Linked DNA regions of Homo sapiens: regions 1 and 2 are each linked to region 3. Evidence: promoter capture Hi-C in 16 types of primary human blood cells and fetal thymus (Javierre and others, 2016). All regions are on one chromosome and are shown on one strand. Each heading gives the region's core, a stretch centred on a gene start or on the middle of the fragment in contact. The rest is flanking DNA. Distances are from core to core; before and after follow the strand shown. Region 1 holds the start of PLS3 (plastin 3). Region 2 overlaps PLS3 (plastin 3). Region 3 holds the start of LRCH2 (leucine rich repeats and calponin homology domain containing 2).

Region 1 (4,314 bases), core at 211-2,710, 330 kb before region 3:
AAAGTGGAGTAAGTGCTTGCCCCTCAATGGTTTTTACTTTTCCCTACATTTTCTACCTACTGTTAGCCAGGCTCCCTTCCCTCCTCCCAATCCCTCTTAACAGGCCGGGCGCCCCCAGCATCCCGTCTGTCTGACGCTAAATGGCGAGGCTCTCCAACCCACTTAGCTCCAAGCTCAACCTTCTGCAAAAGTTCAACCTTCTGCACCACTGGGGATATCGTGCAGCTCAGGTGAGAGGCAAGGAGCATCGCATAAGGCTAGAGTCAGATGCCATTAACCCCCACTCCACCTCCCGGGCTGGGATCATCTTACGTCCCGGAGCCCGGCGGTCGGAACCGCCAGCACACTGGAGCAGCGACGGCGGCAGCAACTTTGGGACTGGCGAGAAGCCAGGGCGGGGGTGGTCGGCGTCCCCGGGCCTCTCATTACAGCGCTTAAGTACTGCGGGTGGAGAAAAGTAAACACAGGCAAGTGCAGCTGTGCGGGGAAAGGGCGGGGGGGTAGACTATTACCTCCCTCCCGTCGCCCCTTTGCCTCTCCCTCTCCAAGAGTCGGGAGAGGTCCGGGACTGCCGCCGCCCCGACCGCGCGCCCGGGGCCGCAAAGTCAAAGGAGCTGAAAAAAGGACAGGGGGTGTGGGGCCAGGGGAGAACGGAAAGGTACTGTCCTACTAGCCCAGAGATGTTCTCCTACTGAAAGGAAAAAAAGTGCTTACTCATAGGGAGACTAGGTGCGTTCGCGACGCCCTCGCTAAGGACAAGGGAGGGAAGCAGGCAGAAGGCAGGCAACCCAAACCTCGTGCCTTCCCTCGGCCACGGCCCCCCCTCTCCAGAGCCCCAGGGTCGGCTTAAGCCAGCCAGGTCACCCGAGGCGGGCGTGTGGGGGCTGGAGGAGTAGCAGGCTGCTGGCTCCGGGATTTCCTGAGTCCGGGCGGGAGGGAAGAGGGGATGGCAGTAGCTGGAGAAGGACGACAGAGGGAAGTTGTGCGCTCCCTTTCCACTTCGGGGCCGCAGCCGCGGAGGGGAATCAGGGCAAGGGCTGGCGTCTAGGACTCCAGCCCAAGACTGGCAACAAGTTAAGAGCAACTAGTAAGAAAACACCACTTAATACAGTGAAGTGCAGAAAACGTGTCTGCGGCGGATGCTAGTAGGGAAACTCCCCGTCACTCACACCCATTTCGGTTGCGACCGATCGCCCGGGCGCCCGAGGGCTCCAACTGAAATTTCTCCGACCTCCCTCTCCCCCAACCCCCGCCCCACGGTGCGCCGCACGTTCCTGCTGAGCTTAACCGAGATGCTCTCCCCGGGACCCACTCCTGCCCACGCCCAGGAAACCCGCTCCCCTAGTGCCCGCCGGCGCCTACAAAGCACTTACGTAAAGTCGCAGAGTCCTGGGTCTGGCCCGACTGCCGCCGACCAACCCACTCAGACAACTTCTGCACCTCGGAATCTTTGCAGCTGTGGCTCTAAAGCCAGCGCTCCCTCCCCTCCTGCCAGCCCCCTCCGCCCCTCGGCCGCCGCCATTGGCTCGGGTGGTGCTAGCAGTCGGCCTGGGAACCAGGAAGGGGATTGGGCCACGAGCCTGTCACATCAACTGGGTGGGGATCCAGGAAAATAGGCACGGGGATGGGCACCCAGGAGGGATAGGGACTGCAACTCTGCTGCAGGGAGAGGAGAATGGTCCCCAGCGCCTGAGTCTCCCCTTCCTACTTGGGCTAAGAGGAAGTTAGAAGTCCAACGTGCCTGGCTCGGAGTACACATTCACACAATCTTGTGGGATTAATAAAAAGATGAAAAAGTTGGGAACAAGAATTTGAATGCCACCTATATAAGTCTATGGGGGAGGGGTACAGTTTCTCCCAGAATCGTGAGAAGAATAACGGCATGTTGGGGAACATTCCTAATTACATCTGCAACAATCAGTCCAGGTGCCAAAGGGTGCAGAGGGAAACATCAGCAATCATTCCTTTCCTTAAGAAGTCAAGGGAGAAGAATATGGGCAGGGCAGGGCCCTCAAGCCTTTGGCCTCATGCCAAGTAAATTGTTAGCCCACATCACCTGTCTGGTATGTTTGTCCATGCGGAGAGGGGTTGAGAGGAGGTGGTTGGAAGTACATTGGTTCCACTCTTTTGACCGGAAATGGGTATCAATTCTCATCAGTCTCCTTTCACCAGAGAAAATTTGGAGACATGTTACTACTCCCCAGACTGCCATTTCTTCTCCTTCTCTGCCCAGGAGATGGCTTCCACGTCATAGCTGACCTCTTTCATTAATACACGTGGAGGTTATCTGCATTCCAAACCTATGGTTCATCGTATATCCAAAATCAACTCAGAGAGCCAGAGTTTGAGGGATTTTGCAGGGTCAGGTCAAGAGACTGACTTGTGGGATAGCTGTAGAAGAAAAAGTCTAAGCCCTTTCCTGTTCCAGTCGTAACCATTTTGTTGAGGAAATGTGTGCTTGGAAAGTTCTGTCAACATTTAAAATTAGTTCAATTAAGTCGCATTTTACATGTACCAGGAAAAAATGCTGAGAGGCTTTAAAATGGAATGTTCTTGAAAAGGAACCCCTATTTCATCTGCCATTATGAATTTCCTTAGAGAAATTAATCCGTAGTGAGTGCCAAGGCTTCTTAAAAGGGAAGAACTTGGGGAGTTCATATATTGCCTAAAGGCTAGACTAGCAGAGGACTTGGCACGAGGAAAAAGCCTTGTTAAATATTAATTAATGATTAACCAACTGGAAGAACTTATGAAAGGCACAGGAAGGTGAAAAAGAAATGGGAGGGCAATCATGCTTTCACAAACATTGAATTTCTGTTATGGGAGATTTTCTACTGGTTCAGGTTTGGGCCAGCACAAAAATACTGATTTCAACATGTTGGCGTTGGATTGAACATGGAGCCAGTGCATTGCCACACACATTTACAGTAAGCTCCCAAATGAGATTTCTAGCATTCAGTAATTGGCCAAAGGTTTGGTGTGACTTCTGGAATTCTTTACAAAAAATTTTTAGATACAGGAAATAGGCTTTTTCAGTTTTCTACCTTTTATGGTGTCTGTCGGTCACCGCTGAAGAGCTTCCACCTGCTCTTAAACTTAAAATTACAGACTGAGCAATAGCATGAAGGGACTCTGTAAGCTAAATTTTCCAGTGCAGATATATTTGTCTCAATTACGTTGTATTCAATTTTAGTTTATTTTTCAAATTCTAGAATTTAAAGTAAAAATATTAAGAATCCTACGTATATGCTATTTACAGTTCCTGTTTTTAATTCAAAAAAGCTTACATTGGTCCGAGTAGGGTAGCTCACGCCTGTAATCCAGCACTTTGGGAGGCTGTGCAGTGGGAGGATTGCATGAGGCCAGGAGTTCAAGACCAGCCTGGACAACATAGCAAGACCTCATCTCTACAAAAAAAATTAATAAAATTTTTTAAAAGCTTAATAGAATCTATACTTTGATAAAAGTCTTCATTCACCACTATCACTGAGGATGTCAGAATTCAGTCAAGAAATGTCATTTTAATTGAAATGCAATAGTCCATAGTTTCAAAGCTGCAGTGTACCTAGCTGATGGCATTAGTTCTCATTGCCTCAGTAACTTTCCAACAGATAAAACACACCCTAAACACAGAAGCACCTATTTGGATGCTAGCTGAGATTCCTGTTTAACAAGCTCCACTATATAATCCAGGTAGAACTCCATTTTAATGAATACTATTAAGATACCCAGCCAGTTTGATGTAACTAAGCTACCTTTGTGTTGCCCAGAATCTAAAGGATCTTTTCAAATTTAGCATTTTGCTGGAAGAAAGGATCCTCAGGCTCAAAGCTCTTAAACAGCATTTCTTTATAATTTTTCATGCCATCAATTTACCTCATAGAGGATCATTCACGAAGTAACCCAAAGTTGATTGTTTTCTTATCTGTATCAAAAAGCCTGCACAGATGTTTGTCAGGGTTCCCTCCACCTGCTTATAGGCTTTAATTTATTTTGACAGTGACTTGCATAGTGCCTGACACATAGGAGTTCAGTAAATGTTTGCTGAACCAATGGTTATTTTATGTCTATTCTTGTTAAACAACAGCAACAAAAAGCTATTAATATATATAGGATTCTCACAGACCTTGTGAATCAGTAACCTAAGAGTTTTTACCTTTCCTTCCATTTCCAATTTTCGATCCTAATGCCTTTGTAATAAATCACTTAAAGTCAATATCACAAAATTTTGAAAACCATTTATTCTTCCTGTCCTCCGCTGATATCATAAGAAGGCGCCAATATCTCTCTTAGGTTTTTTGTCTGTCCAAACTA
Region 2 (4,027 bases), core at 1,149-3,648, 390 kb before region 3:
TCTACTAAAAGTAAAGAAATAATAATAAAAAAATTTAGCCGGGTGTGGTGGTGCATGCCTGTAGTCCCAGCTACTCAGGAGGCTGAGGCAGGAGAATGGCTTGAACCCAGAGGCGGAGGTTGCGGTGAGCCAAAATTGCGCCATTGCACTCCAGCCTGGGCAACAAGAGCGAAACTCCATCTCACACACACAACATATATATATATATATAATGTTATATTATATATAACATATATGTATAATATATACTTTATATACGTATATATACATATATTATATAACATATATGTATAATATATATTTTATATATATTATACATATATATTTTGTATATATACATATATACATGTATAATATACATATATTATACATATATATACATATATACATGTATAATATACATATATTATACATATATATACATATATACATGTATTATATATATTATACATATATATTTTGTATATATACATATATATTTTGTATATATGTGTATAAAATATATATGTGTAAATATATATACACACATATATTTTATATATGTATATATATACATATATATGTATATATTTTATATATATATAGTTATCTGAAATATGTCAGTTGCACTACCCTAAGCACTTTGTATGTAGTAATTTACTTAATGCTCACAAAAGCCCTGTGAGATAAGTATAATAATGTGGAGATCATAACAGATGGAAACTGAAATGCAAAGGGGTTGAGTATTATGATCACAGTTGTACCGCTTCAGAGTGGCAGGACTGAATAGAAAGAAGTCAGGCAGACTGATTATGGAGCATGCTATTAACCACTGTGTGACACTGCCTCTATAAATTGGAACATCGACTGGCAGTGTTGATAATGTTGTGTTATGTCTGCCAAGATGCTGTTGGCTGTGGGGCAGCAGCAGTGACAAAAGCATTTTTTAGAAATAGGTCATTGGAGAGTGAGAACTGAAGAGTAGCCTCTTTTTTTCTTTTGGAAGCTGTGGTACTTTAGAATAAAGAGACACTGACATACTTAAGTTCAACAAAGTTGTAATGTTCTGCTGGCCTGGTGTTGAGAAGAAAATGGAGGCTGAGAGCTTCCCTATAAAGAGGTTGTCGATTTATGGCTGAATTTTAGATTCATGGACAGACCTAGAGATTAAATGAAAAAGGCAGAACCTGGATAATTTTCCATTCTAGTTATTTCTTGAGGTGAACCTGTCAAGCATGCAGAAACAAATATATCAATTATATGGAAGGCTATTTTTGGATATCTGGATATAAAACAAGCTAACATCTTACCAAAGCACAATTCCATCACCAACAGCTTTGAACAGGTCATCGGTGTTAGGGTTCATTGGTATAACATGTCTACAATCAGGATCATTTTCCAAAGCTTTGTTTATCCAGTTAACAAAAGCATATTTTTCTTCCTCTAAAATTATGTTAAATAACAAGACATTAGTTCATACTCTAACTTATTAAATATTTGACTCCAAAGCCTAAAATAGTTGTGCAGTAGTGCTGAAAGTTAATGTGTCAGAAACATGTGGTTATTCTGTGTGGAAACCCAGACACTTGGATGCAACACAGTGGTTATTAGGAATTACAAAATTAAGAAAAAGAATAGAACACGTTAACCAGTCCTCAGAAAAGTTACAAAATTCCTTAAAAATTATATTTATATTACTGTATAATGCACTGTAATAAAGCCTGTCATTACATGGATTGTATCCTGTCTCTTGCAAGCTAACAAAGCCATACAATAAACACTTATAATGCCTTTATGACAAGTATTAGTCTCAAGCCTAAATACATGTCACAAAGGACTTCTACTGTATTCTTAATTAGAAGGTAATGTTTTTCTAGAGCCCGTCCTTGACATTACAGCAACCATCCCACTTAGCACATTGTGTTAACCTATTGCATATAAAATGATTACCTGAGTAAGAATGCTGTGTTCCTTCGCTGGACAACTCTGAAGTTCCACCCAGAGCACAAATACCTTCTTTCCTGTTGATTGCTTTGCGGAAGGTCTTGGCAATATCACTACTTTTTACCTCTTGAAAAATCTATTAATTAAAGTAATTTTGTTGATTCACAATTAATTTCAAACTATGCACAATAAGCATATTTATATTCTTTTATATCTTGATCACTTACATTTTTTCCATAGCTGATGTTAAAAGATACAAAAAACTGGGCTTGAGTTTTTGAAATGCTAAACAAGTACTACAATACCCCTTCTGAAAATGAAGCACCAGAATGTCAATTGCACACACTTGTCAAAAACATTAAGCGCTACATGCATTGAACTCACTTTAAGCCAAAAACTAATGTGGTTCAAAGGCACAGGTAAATCTGTTAATTTTCTACAAACAAGGAAGGCTTTATTCTTTTCCTGGAGAGAAAACATTGAAGAATCCCCCTACTTTAATAAAAATTCTTAATGCAAAGAAAGATAAAATTTTATGATTTAACCAAAAAACTATTTTACAGTATAATGGGGTAGCTCATTAAGAATTCATTAAATCAAAAGTTACAGAATAATGCAGTTAAAAAATGTGTTAAGCTGGTAGTAATAGATGACTATCAAGAATAAACACCAAAAAGAGGCTTTTCAGTGATTGTCTTATTGGGGCATTTATGAAGTCCAGCTTCTCTTCACAGTAAGGAACATTCTAATTGTACAAAAGCAAGTTATAACACAGTAAGTTTCACATCCTAGTACTGTGTAGCTATCTGATTGGACATTCTATCTGTCTATATTTTTCTGAGGTATTGGAATGTACCTAATTCCAAATGTGTTCCTGATCCACCAATGTGCGTGGCTAAATTAGTCAAAGCCAGTAAAACAGGAGCAAGATGTAGAAACCGTATACAACTTTCTTTAAATGGCGTTTAGAATTCCATTTAAGTGGATTCATTGAAAGAAAACTTAAGACTTAATGGAAAAGTTGCTGAACAAATGCAATTCAAAGACCTTTAACATTCGTGACAGATATGTATTCACACACACATCTCAGGAAGATGCAGCCTATGTCTGCGGTTCATAGAACAGGGTTACAATATACATAACAGTTCAGGTTGTATGTGTCAGAGCAGGCACGAGCAGAAGCAGAAATCCAGCCCAAGCTATACTAACCAAGCCTTGTGTCTCGCACAGGACTGTGTCAGACCGAAAGGAGTGCCTTGTTGTATTTTGTCTTTCCAGGAGGGTACCTTTTTGTAATTAATCCATCTAGAGAAAGTGACTTTTAGTAACTGGTAGAAAAGTTGCTGTATGTGTTGTCAGTGGCCCTATTACTTAGTCATTTTTTCCTGTTACCTTTCTTAAATTAAATCCTAACTTTCTTTGGACTTACAAATAAAATTTTGTTTGAGAGAATAGTTAGTAAGCACTTAAATTTTACAAAATCAAGCTTACTCAGTATTTCCATACCTGTGATTCTGTGCTAGCTTTACCAGTAATTTTGGAGGTGGAATTTTAGAATAAATGTCTGTGTGTGTCTATGTTTGTATATGTATGCAGACACACACATACACACTACTCTAAATACTAAACACAACCAATGAAATCACCCTTCCTGCTCTATGGCCATTATACTGACTTTCACTAAGTATCAACAGTATGGAGCTTACGCACACACTTCAGGCAGTTTTCAAATGATTAAAATATTTTTATTTACAATCTGATTTTTTAGTCCAACTGTGCCTTAACTGTGATGCATTTTGATCCTATAGCTCTCCTTTTGATAACAACGCAGCTGCTCTGTGAAAAGACAATAGTCACTAGTCTACTTCTTTCTGAACTCTACTTCATTGTCTAATAAGTTAAAATCTGAAAGGTGTGCATTTCTTCATGCCTAACATACCACAAGTCCCTGCAATGACAAAAGTGTTACAGCTTCAGAATGAGATATGTAAAGTTATTTTTCTTATTACGAGTGCTTCTGCTTCAAGAATCATTTACTTCTAAAACTTAGGTTGTTTCAATGATCATGATTTCAGCTAAAAAATAAATCCAAATTTGTTTATGT
Region 3 (4,397 bases), core at 1,573-4,072:
TATCTCACATTTGATTTATTTACAGATTAGTAAGAACATCCTGTACTTTAGCCCAATAATCTTGACCTTTAATAGAATTTGTAGCTTTGGACATTTGGTTGTGCCTTTCTTTCTCCATATATTTATAAGTGTTTGTTTGGAATAGCAGTGACTATAAACTGGCCTGGAATTTCAGAAATCCTCTCTAGAGTTCTTTTGAACAGAAACTACATTTGGAGTCTGCCAGTGATTTAGTAGAGGCTGCATGTTTTGTTCAAAACTCCCCTACTTTCCCTCTGTTCTCCTTGTATAATCTTTGGTATATGTCATATAGTTGGTGACTTACCAACATACATTTCATAAGTTTGGCTTGGATAATTCTGACTGCTGGCTGTAATTCAACCAGTTACCAATGTGTCATTTCAGGGACTGCATTGCAGTGGTAATCAATGTAAAATATCCTCTAGTATAGACTGAATCAAAAAATTCATGCAATATGTCAGATAATGTCTTTACCCACAGTTATCAGGACATTTACTAATTTTTTCCTTGGCGTCCTACATTTTGAATGTTCTTTATTATTTTAGTTTTTGAAGGAGTAGAGGTGTAGTAAAGAGATTAACACTTATTGAGTGCCCAATGCTATAGTATTACTGGCATGGAGAGTTTCTGGCACAGAGTAATTGCTCCTTAAATGCTTATTAAATGAATAAATGAATGTCAGGTATGTGCCTGCCACTTTACATGTATGACTTTATTTATTCCTACAACAATCATATAGTAGGTATGTACTATTTTCCCTCATCTATAAAATGGAAGAATAATAGTACCTACTTTACAAGGTTGTTATGAGGATCGATAGACAAGTAAGTATATACAAAGCACTCCCTGGCAAGTAGCAAGCACTTTAAAAATATTATTATTATTATTATTTTCCATTGTTACATATGAAGACACTGAAGTACTGAGCTTTTAAGCCACTTTCCCAAGTATTACACAGGGAGTTAAAAGTTCAGAATAAATTTCTAAACTTTATGCCCTCTCTTCTAAATCTTTTGGCCTTGGTGTTCTTGTCAAAGAGCTCTACAACATGTTATTTTGTCTGATTTTAAGGTATACATAGCTTACTTAATAAGCGTCCCATTTTCTTAGATTATCTTTCAACTTTTTGAAAAATTATTTTCCTTCTTAAATTTGGCTGTACATGCCTTTTTTCACTGGACAGGTATCCTGATAGGACATATTTTTCCTGGAGTCCAATACATTGTTTTAAATAATTGCAAAAATTCTCATTGGCTAATTATTAAAATATTTTCTTTCCTAATCTTTTCTCTAATGAACTTAGTGTCCTTTCTCATTCATCTTAATTCTGAAGTTCTCAATTAATTATGAATTATGAATTAATAATTTGATTTAAGATATAAGGAAGATGAGATATAAGGTGCAACATGCCTTTTTGACACCGGTGTGTTTTAATAATTTATCTCACTTGCTAATTCACTATACAGAGTCTGATTCTCTGTTTTCTTCCTTCTGGGTCATGCATATGGTGAATGTAATTTCTCATGACATAATCATTTTAGTTAACCAGTATAGCCACAAATCAATTTAGACAAGTTGTAATTCTTTCCTGTAATCTTTTATAAAGTAGAGCCTATGGCAGATATACTTTTTTGAAGTGGAGATTTCTCTTAAAAAATGAGGCTGTTGACACATTGCTCAAATTGAAATAGGTGTAAAAGAGATACATAGGATACTCAATGATAAGTGAATATGTCCAAGCATTCTGATAGTTTTCTTCATCAACTTTACTGAATACTAGAGAAAAAGATTTGAATGACTATGATTGAGAGTGGAGAGGGTAGTGGGTAAAGGGATGGCAGTGGCCTAAATGGTTGGGTGATAAACTCGGCTAGATAGTCTGGGGTTAAATTATGGAGGCCTGGAATGCCAGATAAAGGACTTTGAACTTTCTTCTCTATGTCTTCTACATTAAAAATATCTTCAGGTTCTGAGAATGAACTCCTAAAATTCAAGATCGATTGGCTTCATAATACCCAGGGTTAAATCTTCAGAATTCCATCTAAAAACAAAACCTGTATTTCAGAAATAACTTAAGATTGTTTGATGATCAAAGAGATTTTCATCAGGCAGTACTGACACGATGAGAAGAAACTAGAGGTATTTTGGAGATCTTGGCACAACTTCAAAGAGTGATAGAACAGAATGTGGATAACTCTTCCAAGTTTTGGAAGGCAACAGTCTGGCTGAGACTTACATACATTGAAACGAGAGGCTTCCTTGAAAACATTTTACAAATCTTTTCCTATTATAGAATTCTAAACTATGGAGAAATTCATATATGCCCCAAACTCAACACTGCACTCATTTCCCTCCCCAAGTGACTCCCCAGCGTTTCTCTAACACTGGTAAAGGATTCCTGAGGCATTTGCAGTAAGCTTCTCAATAAGCTGCCCCATAGCCCTTCTAAGTGCTGTTTCTGTATATTCTGAAACGAATCCCTTTCATCCCTAGCTCATATATTTGTTTCTGTTTTGCAGAACGGAAACAGTGAAGCAACTTAGAGAGTTGGGGACATACAGCCCAGATGACCTATAGTTCGCCTGGTGTCGTTTCGCAAGACTTTGGTACCCAAAGCAGCAGAACCGGGATTTAGCATCCTTCTTATCATACATTTCTTAAAGCAAGCGTTCTGCACTTTCAAACATCATCTTTTCTCTATCCAACACCTCCTCCCAGCCCGCCCCCTGGTTCCTTCCCACTCTCTACCTCGCCCCCCACCCCCCGCCCCCAGTCTGCGCATGCGTCCTAAGAACCCCTTACACTCGCGGCACAGGCTGACAGTATTGTCGGGGGCTATTCTCTCTCCCAGGAACATGGCGGCGAGTCAGGGAGGAGGCGGTAACAGTGGGGGCGGCGGTTGTGGTGGAGGTGGAAGTAGCGGTGGCTGTGGCACGGCTGGAGGGGGAGGTGGCGGGGCTGGAGGGGGAGGCGGCGGCGGCGGCGGGACCCTGGTGGTCCCCATCCCGGTACCGACTCTTTTCGGTCAGCCGTTCCCCAACGGGCCGCCGTGGAACCCGGGGAGCCTGCAGCCTCAGCACACCGTGAGGAGCCTGGACCGGGCCCTGGAAGAGGCGGGCAGCTCCGGCATCCTGAGCCTCAGTGGTCGGAAACTCCGAGACTTCCCGGGCAGCGGCTACGACCTGACGGACACCACCCAAGCAGGTGACAGGACGGGGGGAGGGGAAGCTGGCTGTGAAGGAGGAGGTGCGGGGAGTGGGTGGCTGCGTGGCTGCGTTGTTGGACTCTGCGGGTCTGGGCGGGTGCGCGGGGACCGCCAGACTAACAAAGTCGGGGCAGCCCGTTCTCCTGAACGTGAGGGGCGAATCAAGCAATAGGGGAGGGGAGGAATGCTGCCTGAAGGATGTATAGAAACTGGTAGGATGTTAGGGGTGAAAGAGCATCATTGTTAAAGCAAGTTTCCCCAGTTTGGGTGGGAGGGAGTCATTGACACCTTCCTTAATGCACTTCTTTCAACTCTCCTGGATCTTCCCGTCTTTCCCGGAAAACCAAACCCAACCAAACTAAACGAAACACAAAAATCATAATCTCTACATATTCCTTAAAGGCATACGTGCCTGAAAGAATGGCATATCCTTTTTCAGAGTACAGCAGCAGGATTGCCATGGTTTTTCTGTGTGGTTTAATCATCCTACGATATTCTTGGCTTCTTTCTTGTCACGTATGCCTTTAAAGACTGAGATTTTTCATTTTCCTGGTGTTGAGAAGGTAGTGGTGGTTAAATTAGTATTTGCTGCAGTGGTAAATTAAATCATCAATCACTTACATGTCTGCTTACTAGAAGAAAGCTAATCCTTGTTTTGAGTTATCTTAGAGTCTTAATTTTTATAGTAGAAAGCCAACAATTTTAAGGGTATTTTTGAGAAAAAATTATCTCCATTCTTTATGGAGTTGTGGATTAAAGGTTTATCACTTTGGGTGAGAAATTGGCTATTGTAATGTTCTTCATATACTCTCTGGTAGTCTTTGTTGTGGCTGGCATTTTTTGTTAGGGACACACTCTCTTATAAACCAATGCTGGATTATTTTAGATATGTCTTGATTTGATGAAAGGTTTTTTTTTACTTTTTATAATCTTTAAATTTGTTATTTATTTCTGTTTTCATCTGCTTTGCTGAAATAAATCTGGACAAAATTATTTTAATAGATGTCGTCATTTTGAAACAATATAGTAAGTAAATTCACCCATAATGAGGAGTAGTAAAATACCACTTATTTTCAAAACAAGACAATTTCAGATGTATTCAGTTTTTAGATCTTAAATCAAGGTATTTGTGTTGGAACAAAGTGGGGAGAGGAGGAAAACCTAAAATTGA

Evidence for each region. The method cuts DNA at HindIII sites, captures the fragments that hold promoters and counts their contacts. A CHiCAGO score of 5 or more calls a contact.
Region 1: a contact is called between the fragment with the promoter of PLS3 here and the fragment with the promoter of LRCH2 in region 3, in 2 of 17 cell types (endothelial precursors and fetal thymus). The highest score is 7.1, in endothelial precursors.
Region 2: a fragment that was not itself captured here is called in contact with the fragment with the promoter of LRCH2 in region 3 in 3 of 17 cell types (fetal thymus, megakaryocytes and erythroblasts); the score reaches 5.7 in fetal thymus.

The regions. Positions count from the first base shown.
Region 1 is chrX:115,558,320-115,562,633 of GRCh38, reverse strand. It overlaps PLS3 (plastin 3), which reads right to left and starts at 1,460. Exons shown (of 16, transcript NM_005032.7): 1 at 1,374-1,460. PLS3-AS1 (PLS3 antisense RNA 1) reads left to right here. Exons shown (of 3, transcript NR_110384.1): 1 at 1-8; 2 at 104-230. RefSeq lists an enhancer at 1-686. The HindIII fragment of the contact is 4,189 bases long and covers 1-3,284 here.
Region 2 is chrX:115,627,230-115,631,256 of GRCh38, reverse strand. It overlaps PLS3 (plastin 3), which reads right to left. Exons shown (of 16, transcript NM_005032.7): 4 at 1,930-2,059; 5 at 1,290-1,422. Among named protein-coding and RNA genes, the nearest start is that of PLS3-AS1, 67 kb to the right of the region's middle. The HindIII fragment of the contact is 2,026 bases long and covers 1,386-3,411 here.
Region 3 is chrX:115,232,521-115,236,917 of GRCh38, reverse strand. LRCH2 (leucine rich repeats and calponin homology domain containing 2) reads left to right here and starts at 2,822. Exons shown (of 21, transcript NM_020871.4): 1 at 2,822-3,225. The coding sequence starts at 2,877. The HindIII fragment of the contact is 1,961 bases long and covers 2,441-4,397 here.